Regions from separate parts of the Homo sapiens genome. Here regions 1, 3, 4 and 5 are each linked to region 2. Evidence: promoter capture Hi-C in human tissues and cell types (Jung and others, 2019). All regions are on one chromosome and are shown on one strand. Each heading gives the region's core, a stretch centred on a gene start or on the middle of the fragment in contact. The rest is flanking DNA. Distances are from core to core; before and after follow the strand shown.

Region 1 (2,700 bases), core at 116-2,615, 180 kb after region 2:
CTCTGGCTATGTGCCTACTTGTACACTCTCCCTACCCCAGGACCACCCAGAACACTTATGATGAAAATGCTAATGTTTGTGTAGTGCTTTATAGTTTGCAAAGTACTTTCACATGATCATCTTATTTAACTCTCACCAAAAACTATGAACATGATGTTATTTATATTCTCATCTTTCAAATTGTATTTATTTTTTACTTTTTGTGAGAAAGGGGCTCACTCTGTTGCCTGGGCTGGTCTTAAAATCCTAGCCTCAAGCAGTCCTCCCATGTCAGCCTCCCAAAGTGTTGGGATCACAGTTGTGAGCCATTGCACTCAGCTTCCATTTTATAAATAAGTAAAATGATATTCTAGGTATATATACGATTTGTTCAAGACCAACATCTGACTCCTTACACTTTGCCTGTGCAGCTTTAGCTTTCTAAAGCACAGATGGAGTCTCCTCTTCACAAAACAATGTTAATGTCTTCTAATTACCTACAGAATGATGCAACCTACCTTTCCAGTTTTAAATCCTCCACAACCTATTCTACAATTACTCACTATTCTTAGACTGTACAAGTGCTTTCTCAACTCTATTTCTGTTCACACTCTTCCCACCACCTGTAATACCCTTTTTTTCAATCACCATCTGACAAAATGTATGCATATGCATCACTCAAGGCCCTGCTCAAGTGGCCTTGCCTTCATGGAGTCCTTTCTCAATTAACTATGACACACTCAACCGATGCATCCTTTCCCTCTTTTGCTAAATCATCCAGAGCAGGGCAAATACGAATATTGCTTCTGGAGTCCGAGAACCTGGATTCCAGTGTGGCTGTGCCATTTCTGAGCCTTGGGCTTCAGTTCCTATTGATAATAACAGTATCTAGTTCATCAGATTATGATGACATGCCAAACATACTACTAACAGATATACAATAGTGACCAAACTGGCAAGGTTTCTGTGGCTGTGAAACTTTATATCACAGGGGGAAATAAACAATAAATTAGTAAACATAAACGTTGATATGTAATGTCTTAGCTGGTCATCTATTAAAAGGTCCCCTGAGAAGTGAGGAACGAGCAGGGGCTGGCCCATTCAATGTGCTGGAGGAAATGTCCCAGGAGGAGCAAAGAGCATGTGCAAAGCAGTAGAGCAAAAGAGGCAGATATGTTTGTGGATCTGACATGTCCAGTAACAGAAGCACAGCAAGGAGAGGGCAGAATAAAATGAGATGAAATTGGAGTGATAAACCAGGCCTCATAAACTGCAGCAAAAAAAAAAAAAAATTGTATTTGATTTATTTCTTTTTAGTTATTTATTTATTTTTGAAACAGGTTCTCGCTCTGTCGTCTAGGCTGGAGTGCAGTGGTGAGATCTCGCTCAGCTCACTGCAACCTCCACCTCCAGGTTCAAGCAATTCTCCCACCTCAGCCTCCTGAGTTGCTGAGTTGCTCGAACTACAGATTGTGCCACCACACCCGGTTAAATTTTGTGTTTTTTAGTAGAGACAGGGTTTCACCGTGTTGGCCAGGCTGTTTTGGAACTCCTGACCTCAGGTATCAATCCACCCACCTTGGCCCCCCAAAGTGTTGGGATTACAGGCGCGAGTCACCACGCCTGGCTGTATTTGATTTATAATGAGAAGTATTGAAACATTTTAAGTGAGCAAACAACATGGCCCAATTTTTCTTTTTAAAAAAATTATCTGGGAAAAGGGAAGGAAGGGAGGAAGAAAGGAAAGGAGGAAGGAAGGAAGGAAGGAAGGGAAGGAGGGAGGGAGGGAGGGAGGGAAAAAGAGTGTTTTGGCTAACATTTGTAGAAGTGAAACAACCTTGTTCAGACATTAGCGCATGGGCATGTAAGCACTTTCGGGCAAATTGTATCTGGCATTCTACTGTCAAGAAGTGGGGTCTGGCCGGGGACAGTTGCTCAGGCCTGTAATCCCAGCCTTCAGGGAGGACCAGGCAGGTAGATCACCTGAGGTCAGAAGTTTGGGACCAGCCTGGCCAACATGGTGAAACCCTGTCTCTACTAAAAATACAAAAGAAAAAAACAAAAACAAATTAGCCTGGCGTGGTGGCAGGAGCCTGTAATCCCAGCTACCCGGGAGGCTGAGGCAGGAGAACCTGGGAGGTGGAGGTTGCATTGAGCCGAGATCGCACCACTGCACTCCAGCCTGGGTGACAAAGTGAGACTTGTCTCAAAAAAAAAAAAAAAAAAAAGCGATAGGAGACTTAAAGAAAAAAATGTGGGGTCAGGTCCTCTCCCCTTGAATAGAGAGGTAAGCCTATGACTACAGCAATAGTAACACCATGTGATATCCAAGGCTGAGTCATAAAAAGCAGCTCAGCCACCATTCTGTGCAGATGCCAAGCAGCTGCATAGAGGAGCCAGTGAAGGTGTTCCAGGCACTGTCCCAGTGGAGCCATCAGCTAACAGCCAAAATCAACTCCCAGACATGTGAGGAAGCAAGATTTCAGATTATTCCAGCCTTAGTCCTTGAGCCACTGCAGCTGATCCCTGTCGCAATCCAGACCTGAGCGTATTAAATGTCGTCGTTGTTTAAGTCACTAGACTTTGCCATGTTTTGTTGCACAGCATTAGATAAATGAAACAGCAACTGTTAGTATCAATATCATGTCTGCTAATTACCCAATAACCTCTCTCCTACCTTCTAAACCTCGATTTTCTTTGACGCAGCAAAATACCCAGTTA
Region 2 (2,700 bases), core at 191-2,690:
ATGCCATAGGAAGGAAGACAATTCTGAGAAGTGAAAATAACTTGTTTCAATTTTTAAATTTTAGTGATTTTAGAACACTTTTATTGAATCACTTTAAAAGAGTCCTTTTTAAAAGAATGCTTTTTATTGAAAAGATGGGTAGAATCCAACATGCAAGGTATCTTAGTCGTAGTTACCTAGAATGAGAAATTCGAAGAGAAAAAGCACAGGCTTTTCATTTCAATTAGTGCATCTCAAACTTCGATGAACATAGGAATCTCCTGGCGGTCTTGTTAAAGTGCAAGTATTGATTTAGGAAATCTCGAGTGGGGCCTGAGATTCTACATTTCTAACAGGAAACCAAGTAATGTCAATGTTGTTTGTTCATCTACTACAATTTAGGTGGCAAGGACACAGATCGCTCCTGCGAGGCACAAATGCCATAACTGGAGTGCTAATTTGGCCCAGAAGTTTCCAAGATCTAGACAGTCCATTCCTAACCATCAGTTCAAGAATGCCTACATGTAGATTGACAGGCTAGCCCTCTTTCTATGTGAGTGCAACCAGAACACATACATATGATGCTGTAGAAAATAACATTGATCTTAGGTCAGTAGCCTTCGGTTCAAGTCCCAGCCTTTTTCTAACCAACTGTGATAACCTGGGTCAATTACTCGTAGGCTGCAACATGAGAGAACAGTTCCTGTTTCTCCTCTGTAGGTTACTGTGAGGACTACAATGGAAAATGTAAGTGAAAGTACTGCAAGAACCATACCCTAAAAAAAACAGAATAGCTTAAACAAAAGTCAAGCAAAGAATTTGAGAACCAAGCAGGACCTAAAAATAAGAGGTGGGGCTTCGGGATTTTTCCCGTGGGCGTTGAGGGATGTACCATATTGGGGGCAGGGGCGCCCCACAACAAATAATGTATTTGAAAAGATTCTGTATTTGAAATTATGCCTCTATCATGACACCTGAATATGAACTTTTCCTTCGTTAGATACTTCAACTGGCACTTAACTATAAGTTCAGTGACAGTATTCTGCTTCTTTCTCCTGAAGTCAAAGTGCCACCCACGCACCTCTCCCGTTCTGCCATCCACCCGCGGCTTTCCTACCCCCGCCGCCTGCGGCCCCCGCCCCGGGGCAGTAGTTTGCACTAGGCTGAAGGGAGAGGTGGAACGGATTCGTCTATCTACGCACCTCGAGGAGGGGTGTGTGAGGAGCTACGTTCCAGAGAACGGTAAGAAACTCCGGCCAGGAAACACGGGATCACAGGAGAACTCGAGGCGAAGGTGCGGCGTCGGTGCAGGAGCGGAGGGGCGGACCCACAGCAGCCCGGCGAGCGCGCAGGTGTGCCCGCGGCCGCGCCACCCTCCCCGCAGCCTTTACGGGATGGAGCCGGCGGGAGAGGGCGGGGCCAGGCGCGCGGCGGCCGCCTCTGCTGCGGCCGGAAACAATAGTGGAGGAACCCGAGCCGCACGGAACGGCGGTGGTGGCCCGCGGAGCCGGACGGTAAAGACCCCGCAGCCCTGCTCCCATCCCACCTGAGCCCCGACCCCCAGTCCCATCGTTCCGCCTCCTTCGAGTTCCGAGCCCCGTGGCCCCTCGCGCTGCTGCGCGCCAGGCGCCCCGACGGACAGACCGACGGAAAGACGGACTTGGGTCCGCGACTCCCTGGGGGCGGCCGCGCGCCCCCAACGCCGAAGGCCGGGCCAGGACCCGGCTCCCCGAGACGCTGAGGCTGGGCGGACCGGCCGCCGTGGCCCTCGGACGCTTTCTTCCCTCTGGGAGGAATCCCGGAGCGATGGGACGAGGCTCTCCCGCCCGCCGGGCTCCAGGATGCCGCGGCTCTCCCAGCTCCGGCTTGGGCCCCTCCGGCGGTGCCCGGCCGGTACCGTGAAGCCGCCGCTCGGCCTTCGGTGTAGTTGCCCCGGACACGGCGGGACGCCCTCCCCGGGTATTCGGTACCCACGTGCATTTTGCTGCCGCCGATCTCCGTTCGATGCGAAGCTTCGCAACTCCGAGTTCGCGAGGCGCATCTGAGGTTCCCCCAATGAAGTTAGCAAAGCAGTGTCCCGTGCAGGTCGTTTTTCCTGTTTCTCACAGCGTTAACTAGGTTGACAGAACCTGGTAGCTGAAAAGGCCTCGCTGCTAAGCCCTCTGATTATTCGAGGTTGGGGGACGAAGGAGGAGGACTAGAATGCCGGCAAATCTCTTTCCTTCAGGTGCCACTAACCCAATCAACTATAGGACAAAAAAGACACGGACATAGTGTCACCTATGGCCTGGCTTTAAGTTTTACTAGCTTTGTGTCTTTCCACAGGAAAAGTGCAATGTTGGAGTGCAAGTATGGCGATGCTTGTTTGATGGAGCTTTTGCTTTAAATGAGCTGAACAGCATCCTTATTTCCTAGAAGTTCCCAGTAAAGGGAACTACCCCAAAGGCAGGTTCATGAAATTGTGTAACTTTCCTTTTCTGTTTCTTAATAGGGGCACTATGAACGAAGAGGAGCAGTTTGTAAACATTGATTTGAATGATGACAACATTTGCAGTGTTTGTAAACTGGGAACAGACAAAGAAACACTCTCCTTCTGCCACATTTGTTTTGAGCTAAATATTGAGGGTAAGGACACAGTATAGTTTTGATCTTATGGAATGAATTTAACACAGCTGCTTTGTACTGATTGTAAGGTAAAACTAAAATGTCTTCAATGATTGG
Region 3 (2,700 bases), core at 5-2,504, 240 kb after region 2:
ACTATATAGCACATCTTTATCATGTCCCGAACACAGCAGATAGTATCTTTTACTTGAGAAGGCAGAGATTATGGTTCCTCTCATGTAATTGTTTAATTTTACTTTGTGTTCTCTCGTTTCTGTGAACACATAAAATGTCCCCTCCTTGTCAGATTAAAAGACTGGTGAATGTTAGAGGACTATGATTTCCCAACAGGTTGCAAATTGCAGTCACTGATATCTTTTCTATCACGTTCTCTCCTCCCAGAATCGCAAGGTCATTCTCCTGTTCCCAAAAAATTATCTCATTGTTGACAGTTCTGGGACTATGTGAGAAGATGTCTTACTTAGAAACATTAAAAGAGCACAGTGCCAGCAGCCAACATTGAACTTGGGATAGTGTGTGACAGCTGACCTAAGATGTAACCTAGACACATCTTTTCAAATGCAAGATAACTCACTTTCTTCATTAGTTTGTGCTGATTCCATAAAACTGCTCTTGGCAAAAATTCCGACAACTTGAAGAAACCAAAGATAAATCAAGGAGACACACTGTTATGGCGATACATGCAGCAATGGCTTGATATGAACACAGCCAGAGCTGCTACAATTATTATCATCAGCAAAGATTACTGAGAGTTTATGTGTTGAACAGTTAGATGTAAAGATGTTTCTGCCTTTCAGAACTCTGACATCTGCTTAGAGATAGGAGATAAACACATGAAAAGACAGGTGACCCTGAGCTCCCAGTGAGGGTACAATTTCAAGGAGGGAGAGATAAGTCAGTGTTGAACCAGAATGGTTTGGAAATGGCTTCTCTGTGGGACTTAGGAAGGATTAAGATTACATAGCCATAAAAGGGCAAATACAAACAGTCAGATAACTTGAGGGGAAAAGTTGCGGGTCAAATCACAAAGAACTAATATTATTAATATTTAAAAGCTCCTCCAGCGGGCTGCGGTGGCTCATGCCTGTAATCCTAGCACTTTGGGAGGCCAAGGCGGGTGCATCACCTGCGGTTAGCAGTTCGAGACCAGCCTGGCCTACATGGTGAAACCTTGTCTCTGCTAAAAATACAAAAATTACCTGGGTGTGTTCGGCTAGACCCAGGAATTCAGGGAGACCTAGATTCCCACTCCTAGCTATGTGGCCTTAGGAAATGTGTGGCAGGTGCCTGTAATCCCAGCCACTCAGGAGGCTGAGACAAGGAGAATCACTTGAACCCGGGAGGGCAGAGGTTTGCAGTGAGCCGAGATTGTGCCACTGCACTCCAGCCTGGGCAACGAAGAGTGAAACGCCGTCAAAACAAACAAAACAAACAAACAAACAAACAAACAAACTCCTCCCAAATTAGCCAGACTACTAGTACAAAGGAAAAATGGAATTCTCAAAAATATAATTTTTTTTTTTTTTGAGACAGAGTCTTAGCCTTTGTCACCCCAGGCTGGAGTTGCAGTGTTGTCAGAGCTCACTGCAAGCCTCAATCTTCTTGGGCTCAAGTGATCCTCCCACCTCAGCCTCCTGAGTAGCTGGGACTACAGGCACATGCCACCACATCCAGCTAATTTTTTATTTTTTGTGGAGATAGGGTCTCAACTATGTTGGCCCTGGCTGGTCTTGAACTCCTGGCCTCAAGTGATCCTCCTACCTCAGCCTCCCAAAGTGCTGAGATTACCGGTGTGAGCCACCGTGTCTGGTCCTACAAATGTTTTTAAACAAAGAAAAAGATGCTCAACTGAGCAAATTGAAAGAGAGGTAGACTTTTAAACCATGTGATAATTTTCTCCTGAGGTCAGGAAAGATCAAGAAGTTGGATAAAAGTATGGTGAAGATTTTCAGGGGATAAACACTCTCATATATTGAAAGCATAAGCTGCCACAACACTTAGGATGCTGTTTTAATAGTATCTATCAAAATATTCTTTACTCATTTGCTCCTTTTAGAAATTTATTTTAAAGATATATTTATACATACACAAAATGACATATATACATATATATTGATTGTAATTTTACTTGTTATACCAAAAGGATGGGATTAATTTAAATGACCATCAATTGGAAACTGATTATATACGTTATAGTGTATCACTTTGATGTAACACTATACAGTTTTGGGAGAAAAAAAGCTTGCTTTGTACCAAAGATAATAGATACAAAGGGAAATACAGAATGACCTGAGAGCAATTGTTAAATTAAAAACAAGTTTGTGACCTAGCAAGATGGTTCATGCCTATAATCCCAGCTCTTTGGGAGGCTAAGGCAGGAGGATCACTTGAGCCCAAGAGTTTGAGACCAGCCTGGACAACATAGTGAGACCTCCTCCCTACAAAAGAATTAAAGATTGGCCAGGTGTACTGGTGCGTGCCCATAGTTACAGTCACTTGGGAGGATGAGGTGGGAGGACTGCTTGAGCCCTGGAGGTTGAGGCTGCAGTGAGCCATGATCACCCCTCTGCACTCCAGCCTGGGTGACAGAGCAAGACTCTGTCTCAAAAAAGAAACATTGTATTAACTTTTATTTTTTAAAAAATACATGTATATGCCAGTATAAGGATAGAGTAAGTATAATAGTGCAGGGTCAGATGTAAAAGTCTGAAGCCACTAAACCTATGGTTTAGACTTTAATCTTTATTTATGTATTTTTGGTTTTGAGACAAGGCCTCACTCTGTCACCCAGGCCGGAGTTCAGTAGTGCGATCACAACTCACTGCAGCCTTGAC
Region 4 (2,700 bases), core at 162-2,661, 160 kb after region 2:
TCAAGGGTCAGACAGGGCCCTTGGAGCTCTCAAGTTGCCCACTTGGCCCTCTTTCAAGTGCATTTTACTTCCTTTCATTCCTGCGCTGAAACTTTTTAATAAACTTTCACTCCTGCTCTAAAAGTTGCCTCAGTCTCTCAGTCTATCTTATGCCCCTTAGCCAAATTCTTTCCTCAGAGGAGGCAAGAATTGAGTCACTGCACACCTGTACAGATTTGCCACTGCTAACAATATTACATGACACTGACCTACACAGATATCCCCACAACAAAGTTCACAATCTCCACGTACACACTCTAAGTGAGCCATATTCTTAAATATATGCAAACAATGAAGGATCACTAGATACTTAAGACATCTAATACAAAAAATAGAAAACAAAGTTAAAGTGTAAGCAAACCAAAAGAACCAGAGATGACACAGAGGGAAGAAAATGTATTATCATTAATATCCTCAGGGAACTATGAGAAGATATTGTTTCCATGAAACAAGTATAGCCTGCCATAAGAAAAGGAATATCCAATAAATAAAAATATAAAAGATTAGATTCTTTAAAAATATAATGGTGAGACTAGAACGTGCTGAGTGAAAAGAAAAATATACGTAATGGCATAAATGACAAACTCAATAGAAGTTTCACAAAATAAAATTGGAGAAATCTTCCAGAAAGCAGAACCAAAAATAAAAAAGAGAAGAAAAAAATCAGAAACTTAGAGGACAAGTTCATAAGTTCAATATTCAAATAAGAGTTCTCAAGAAATAGAACAGAGAAAATAAGGCTGAGAAAATTATTTAAGAAGTATTTCAAGTGAGTTTCTCAGAACAGAATGACCTAAGTATTCTGATTAAAAGAGAATTCATAGTGTGCAGATGATGGCTAAGAGTAAACCATACTGAAGTCACATCATCACAAAGTCTTAAAACTGGGGACAAAGGCAAGCTTCCAAAGAGGAGGGGAAATGGTCACCTAAAAAGACCAAGAATCTGAATAGCCTTGGATTTTTCAGCAGCACACTGGAAGTTAGAAAAGCAACATCTTAAAAATTCTGAAAGAAAGCATTTCTCAATATAGACATCTGTATCTAGCCAAGCTATCAATTGAGTATGAGAGAAGAATAAGAATGTTTTCAGACATTCAGGTATCAAGAATTTTACATCACCTGCACCCTCTCTAAGATAACCACCTGGAGAATGTGCTTAAGTAAAGTCAGTGGGTAAACCAAGAAAAATGAAGACATGAAACCCTGGGGACAGGGGAGAGAGGTGAATGAAATGGCAGGAGTGTGGTCATAGTCAATTCCATGAATACAGCTGTGTGACCAGCTCTGAGATCAGCCTTTCCAGATTAAAACAAATTATCATCTTCGAGAAGGAGTGCATCAGGGGTATGCAACACCAGGAGAGATTTAGGCAATTGGCAGAAAGTATGAATTAGGATTATATAGAAAACTAATATAAAAATATTTAAGGACAGCTATTTAATTTAGAGAAAACCAGGCTTTAAATAGGAAAAACAATCATATTTGTATAAATCATTGTATTCTACAAGGCATAGTTGTGAATAGCATTTGCATCATCATCATCATCATACAATAATTTGTTACAACTTAAATAATAATATAACCACCTTAGAAAGATGGGGAGCAAAGAAGAATTCATGTGATGGGATGGGGGTGGAGTATAGATATGAGAAGTAAAGAGGAGTCACCATTTTCCAAAATGGGAAGCTATACCACTATTTTGTATCCATAATTAAGAATAAAAAATTTTAACAAAACAAAATGGGATGTAAATATTAATAGATAATGGCTGGGGAAAAACAAGACTGGAAATATTAGCACATTATTTAGAAACATCAAGGTCATATACCTGAGAAAGAAACAAAACAGGTAAGAGTTGAAAGTGGTTGATCCTGAGTAGAAAAAAATGGATCACAGGAGGTAAGGAGTATTTGGAATATTCTGTTGAATTATTTTATTTTTTAAACTTTGTGCACCTATAACTTTGATTTAAAACAAATGAAAAGCTGGGTCTTCATTAAACAGTATAATTCAGGCTGGGCACGGTGGCTCACTCCTATAATCCCAGCACTTTGGGAGGCTGAGGTGGGCGGATCACCTGAGGTCGGGAGTTCGAGACCAGCCTGACCAACATGGAGAAACCCCATCTCTACTAAAAGATACAAAAATTAGCCGGGCGTGGTGGCGCATGCCTGTAATCCAAACTACTCGGGAGGCTGAGGCAGGAGAATCGCTTGAACCCAGGAGGTGGAGGTTGTGGTGAGCAGAGATCACACCACTGCGCTCCAGCCTGGGCAACAAGAGTGAAATCCCCTTAAAAAAAAAAAAAAAAAACCAAAACAGAAAAACAAAAAAGGCAGTATAATTCATGTTAATGTAAAACATGGCTGGGAACATTTGCCTTCTTTAACAAATAGAATAGAGCCAGTCAACCTATATCAAAGTAGTTATTAAAATAAATGTAATGAATATGTCTACAAAGAATAGTTTAGTACTTTATTTTGCAAAAATGCATATATATATTTGATATAATTTAGTTTGAGAAGTTTAGCCAGTTTTTCTCATTTGTTTTACTTTATGGATGTCTATCTGGTTTTTGTTTGTTTTGTCTTTTTTAAATCTTTTTTTATTATACTTTAAGTTCTGGGGCACATGTGCAGAACGTGCAGGTTTGTTACAT
Region 5 (2,700 bases), core at 89-2,588, 140 kb after region 2:
GGATAAAGGAAGAGTTTAACAAATGTTACAATCAGTATTACTTTCTGATTTCTGAATATAACACTTTATTTTCGTCATATCTATCTCTCCTTTCCTTTTTTCACTGTCTACTTTTCTAGTGTACTTTTGGTCTGCTTTTATTAATTTTTTGTTTGTGTTCCCCTTTGCTCACTCCATGGCAATGAAAAAGTTAGATTTTAAAGTACGGGTTCTTAGTTCAGGACCCTGCATTCGAATGGATTTATTGCTATTTCTAACACAGAAAACTGCATTGTAGGACTGTTCCCAGATGTAACTGACTATCAGGCTGCTATTTCTCGTGGCCCAATAACGAGATGCAGATGAACTGGGGAGAAAGAGAGTTTTTATTTCTGCAGCCGTTTACAGGGAGAAGGCCTGGAAATTATCACCAGACCAACTCAAAATCACAAAGTTTTCCAGCGCTTATATACCTTGTAAGCTATATGTCTACATGTAAGTGTGCATTCATCTAAAGACACATGTGATTAACTTTTTTTCCTTTTTTTTTTTTTTTTTTTTTGAGGCAGAATCTCACTACTCTGTCACCCAGGCAGGAATGCAGTGGTGAAATCTTGGCTCACTGCAATCTCTGCCTCCCGGGTTCTAAGCGATTCTCCTGGCTCAGCCTCCTGAGTAGCTGGGATTACAGGCACCTGCCACCACACCCAGCTAATTTTTGTATTTTTAGTAGAGATGGGGTTTCACCACGTTGGCCAGGCTGTCTCGAACTCCTGACCTCAGGCAATCCACCTGCCTCAGCCTCCCAAAGTGCTGAGATTACAGGCTTGAGCCACCATGCCTGGCCATGATTAACTTCTTTTAATCTATAACTAAGGTCTGAGTCCTGAGACCTTCCCCTGGAACCTCAATAAATTTACTTGATCTAAATGGGTCCAGGTGCTGGGGTGATTACCCTTATCTTGTCTCCTGCTAAATCATGGAGGTTTGGGGAGTTCCTTCAGAACCCCAATAAGCTTCTTTGTGAAGCCTGGGGAGTTTCTTCAGACTCCCAATAAAACTTGTTTAATCCTAAATGGGTCCCGTTAAGGATTCCTTCGTTATTTTGTTATGCTTTAAGGCTCAGGAAAAGCCTAGGCAAAACTCTTGGTGGGCTTTTGTTACATTCCAGTCTTTGTATAAGGGCACTGGCTTTTAAAACTTAGCCAGTCAGTCAGTACCGAAGCAGGTGTTATGGAAGACTGCATTAGTGAGACCTGGCCTGCCACAGGACCAATACCTGGAAATAGTGGGGTATTTTTGTGCTCCTCAGGTATGCGTTTTTGGACATCCTTTTATTGGAGAGCTGAAAGAGAAGGCTACCATCTTTGGACGCCCTTTTACTGGAGAGCTGAAAGAGAAGGCTACTGAGAAGATATTTTTAAAGTATGTATATAAGTATACTTACATGATGTATGTATGAGGTTTAATGCAAAAGTTAATTGCGGTTTTGCCATTAAAGTGATGCAAAAACCTCAATTACTTTTGCACGAACCTAGTAAGTACTTACTCTGTTTTTCCAGTGGTCAGAAGAGTCTTTCATTTGGAAGTTTCTAATGCAAGCTAATTTTGTGAGAAAAAACTCTCACATCATGTATCTGCCCATTTTAGAGGAAGGATAAGCATATGGTACAACATCAGTGGATGGAACAGAAGCCGCAACTAGTTGAGGGTATTTCCTTGCCTACAGCTCCATCAAGCATTAAGAGAGACTTTCCAGGCCAGCTCCAGATGAAAAGTGCTTATTTCAGAATCTTTATTTTGGGGGTCTGTGCCATTATGTCAAGATTCTAAAACTCAAAATTGGAGCCTGAAAATTCTTCTTGGTTCTTCTTGTACAATTTATATTTTAGTTGTAACTCAGCCCAAAATCTGCTGGGGTTGTGGGGGAGATGTTTTTTCAAGCAAGTAACTCCAGATAATATTTAATAAATAGATTTTTGCCTATTCCTTCCCTGGTCGCCACGGTTGTTGTCTGTTACCTAGGAATTAAATGTTGAATGGCAAGGTAGGATCACTATAGTAACTCGAAGGGCATTGGAGCAATGAGAACGTGGGAAGATGTTAAATTTAGATCAGAGTGAGTATATGTCACATTATCAATCCTATTCCTGTAGGAGCTAATTTTCTTCAACAGATCTTCCTTATACAACACATAAAAGGCCCTTTTCTCTCCTTTGTGTCAACTGTCAAAACTGTTCAAATTAGCAAGCTTGATGTTTTTGCTGTTTTCAGAAATAATTGTTTTGTTTCTCTTTTTTCAAAATGTAACTTAGAATAACCATGTTCCTATGCTATTTAGCTCTTGCTGAATGATAAATAGTACAAATGTCTACTGTCTTTTGGAAACATACTTTCAAAGAATTCTTTTTGTATTTTTTAAATATCAGAAATACAGCATCTGACCTGCATTCTGACTTTGCTGTGAATCATTAAAGTTGGAATGTTTTTGAATTTTAGTACATTTTGTGGCATTAACTTTCCTACCCACAAACGAAGAGCCTTCAAACTACCTAGATGAGATCAAACGTCGATGACATTTATATTTTTCTAGGAGTCAGGAAGAAAAATATAATCCCACAACGTTAAATGCCTTTCAAGGAAAAAAAGTGAGCACGTGGCTGGATGTTTGACGTGAAAGACAGAAAAATCTTCTGTCTCTGTTTAGTGTTCCCAAACGTC

What was found. The method cuts DNA at HindIII sites, captures the fragments that hold promoters and counts their contacts. A contact is called where the count stands out against the background at its distance.
Region 1: a fragment that was not itself captured here is called in contact with the fragment with the promoter of C21orf91 in region 2 in 2 of the 25 tissues and cell types used here (H1 embryonic stem cells and lymphoblastoid cells).
Region 3: a fragment that was not itself captured here is called in contact with the fragment with the promoter of C21orf91 in region 2 in 1 of the 25 tissues and cell types used here (pancreas).
Region 4: a fragment that was not itself captured here is called in contact with the fragment with the promoter of C21orf91 in region 2 in 2 of the 25 tissues and cell types used here (mesenchymal stem cells and pancreas).
Region 5: a fragment that was not itself captured here is called in contact with the fragment with the promoter of C21orf91 in region 2 in 4 of the 25 tissues and cell types used here (dorsolateral prefrontal cortex, hippocampus, mesenchymal stem cells and 1 more).

Annotation. Positions count from the first base shown.
Region 1 is chr21:17,636,625-17,639,324 of GRCh38, reverse strand. No RefSeq gene overlaps it. Among named protein-coding and RNA genes, the nearest start is that of BTG3, 25 kb to the right of the region's middle. The HindIII fragment of the contact is 6,299 bases long and covers 1-2,700 here.
Region 2 is chr21:17,818,096-17,820,795 of GRCh38, reverse strand. C21orf91 (chromosome 21 open reading frame 91) reads left to right here and starts at 1,440. Exons shown (of 5, transcript NM_001100420.2): 1 at 1,440-1,493; 2 at 2,471-2,604. The coding sequence starts at 2,478. The region is part of intron 2 of LOC124900465 (a long non-coding RNA gene); the gene reads right to left. RefSeq lists an enhancer at 746-795 and a silencer at 1,046-1,825. The HindIII fragment of the contact is 15,791 bases long and covers 1-2,700 here.
Region 3 is chr21:17,580,540-17,583,239 of GRCh38, reverse strand. It overlaps a transcript of CXADR not described here. Among named protein-coding and RNA genes, the nearest start is that of BTG3-AS1, 30 kb to the left of the region's middle. The HindIII fragment of the contact is 6,058 bases long and covers 1-2,700 here.
Region 4 is chr21:17,653,235-17,655,934 of GRCh38, reverse strand. No RefSeq gene overlaps it. Among named protein-coding and RNA genes, the nearest start is that of BTG3, 42 kb to the right of the region's middle. The HindIII fragment of the contact is 5,313 bases long and covers 1-2,700 here.
Region 5 is chr21:17,673,754-17,676,453 of GRCh38, reverse strand. LOC124904999 (a long non-coding RNA gene) reads left to right here and starts at 2,035. Exons shown (of 2, transcript XR_007067821.1): 1 at 2,035-2,098. The HindIII fragment of the contact is 4,548 bases long and covers 1-2,700 here.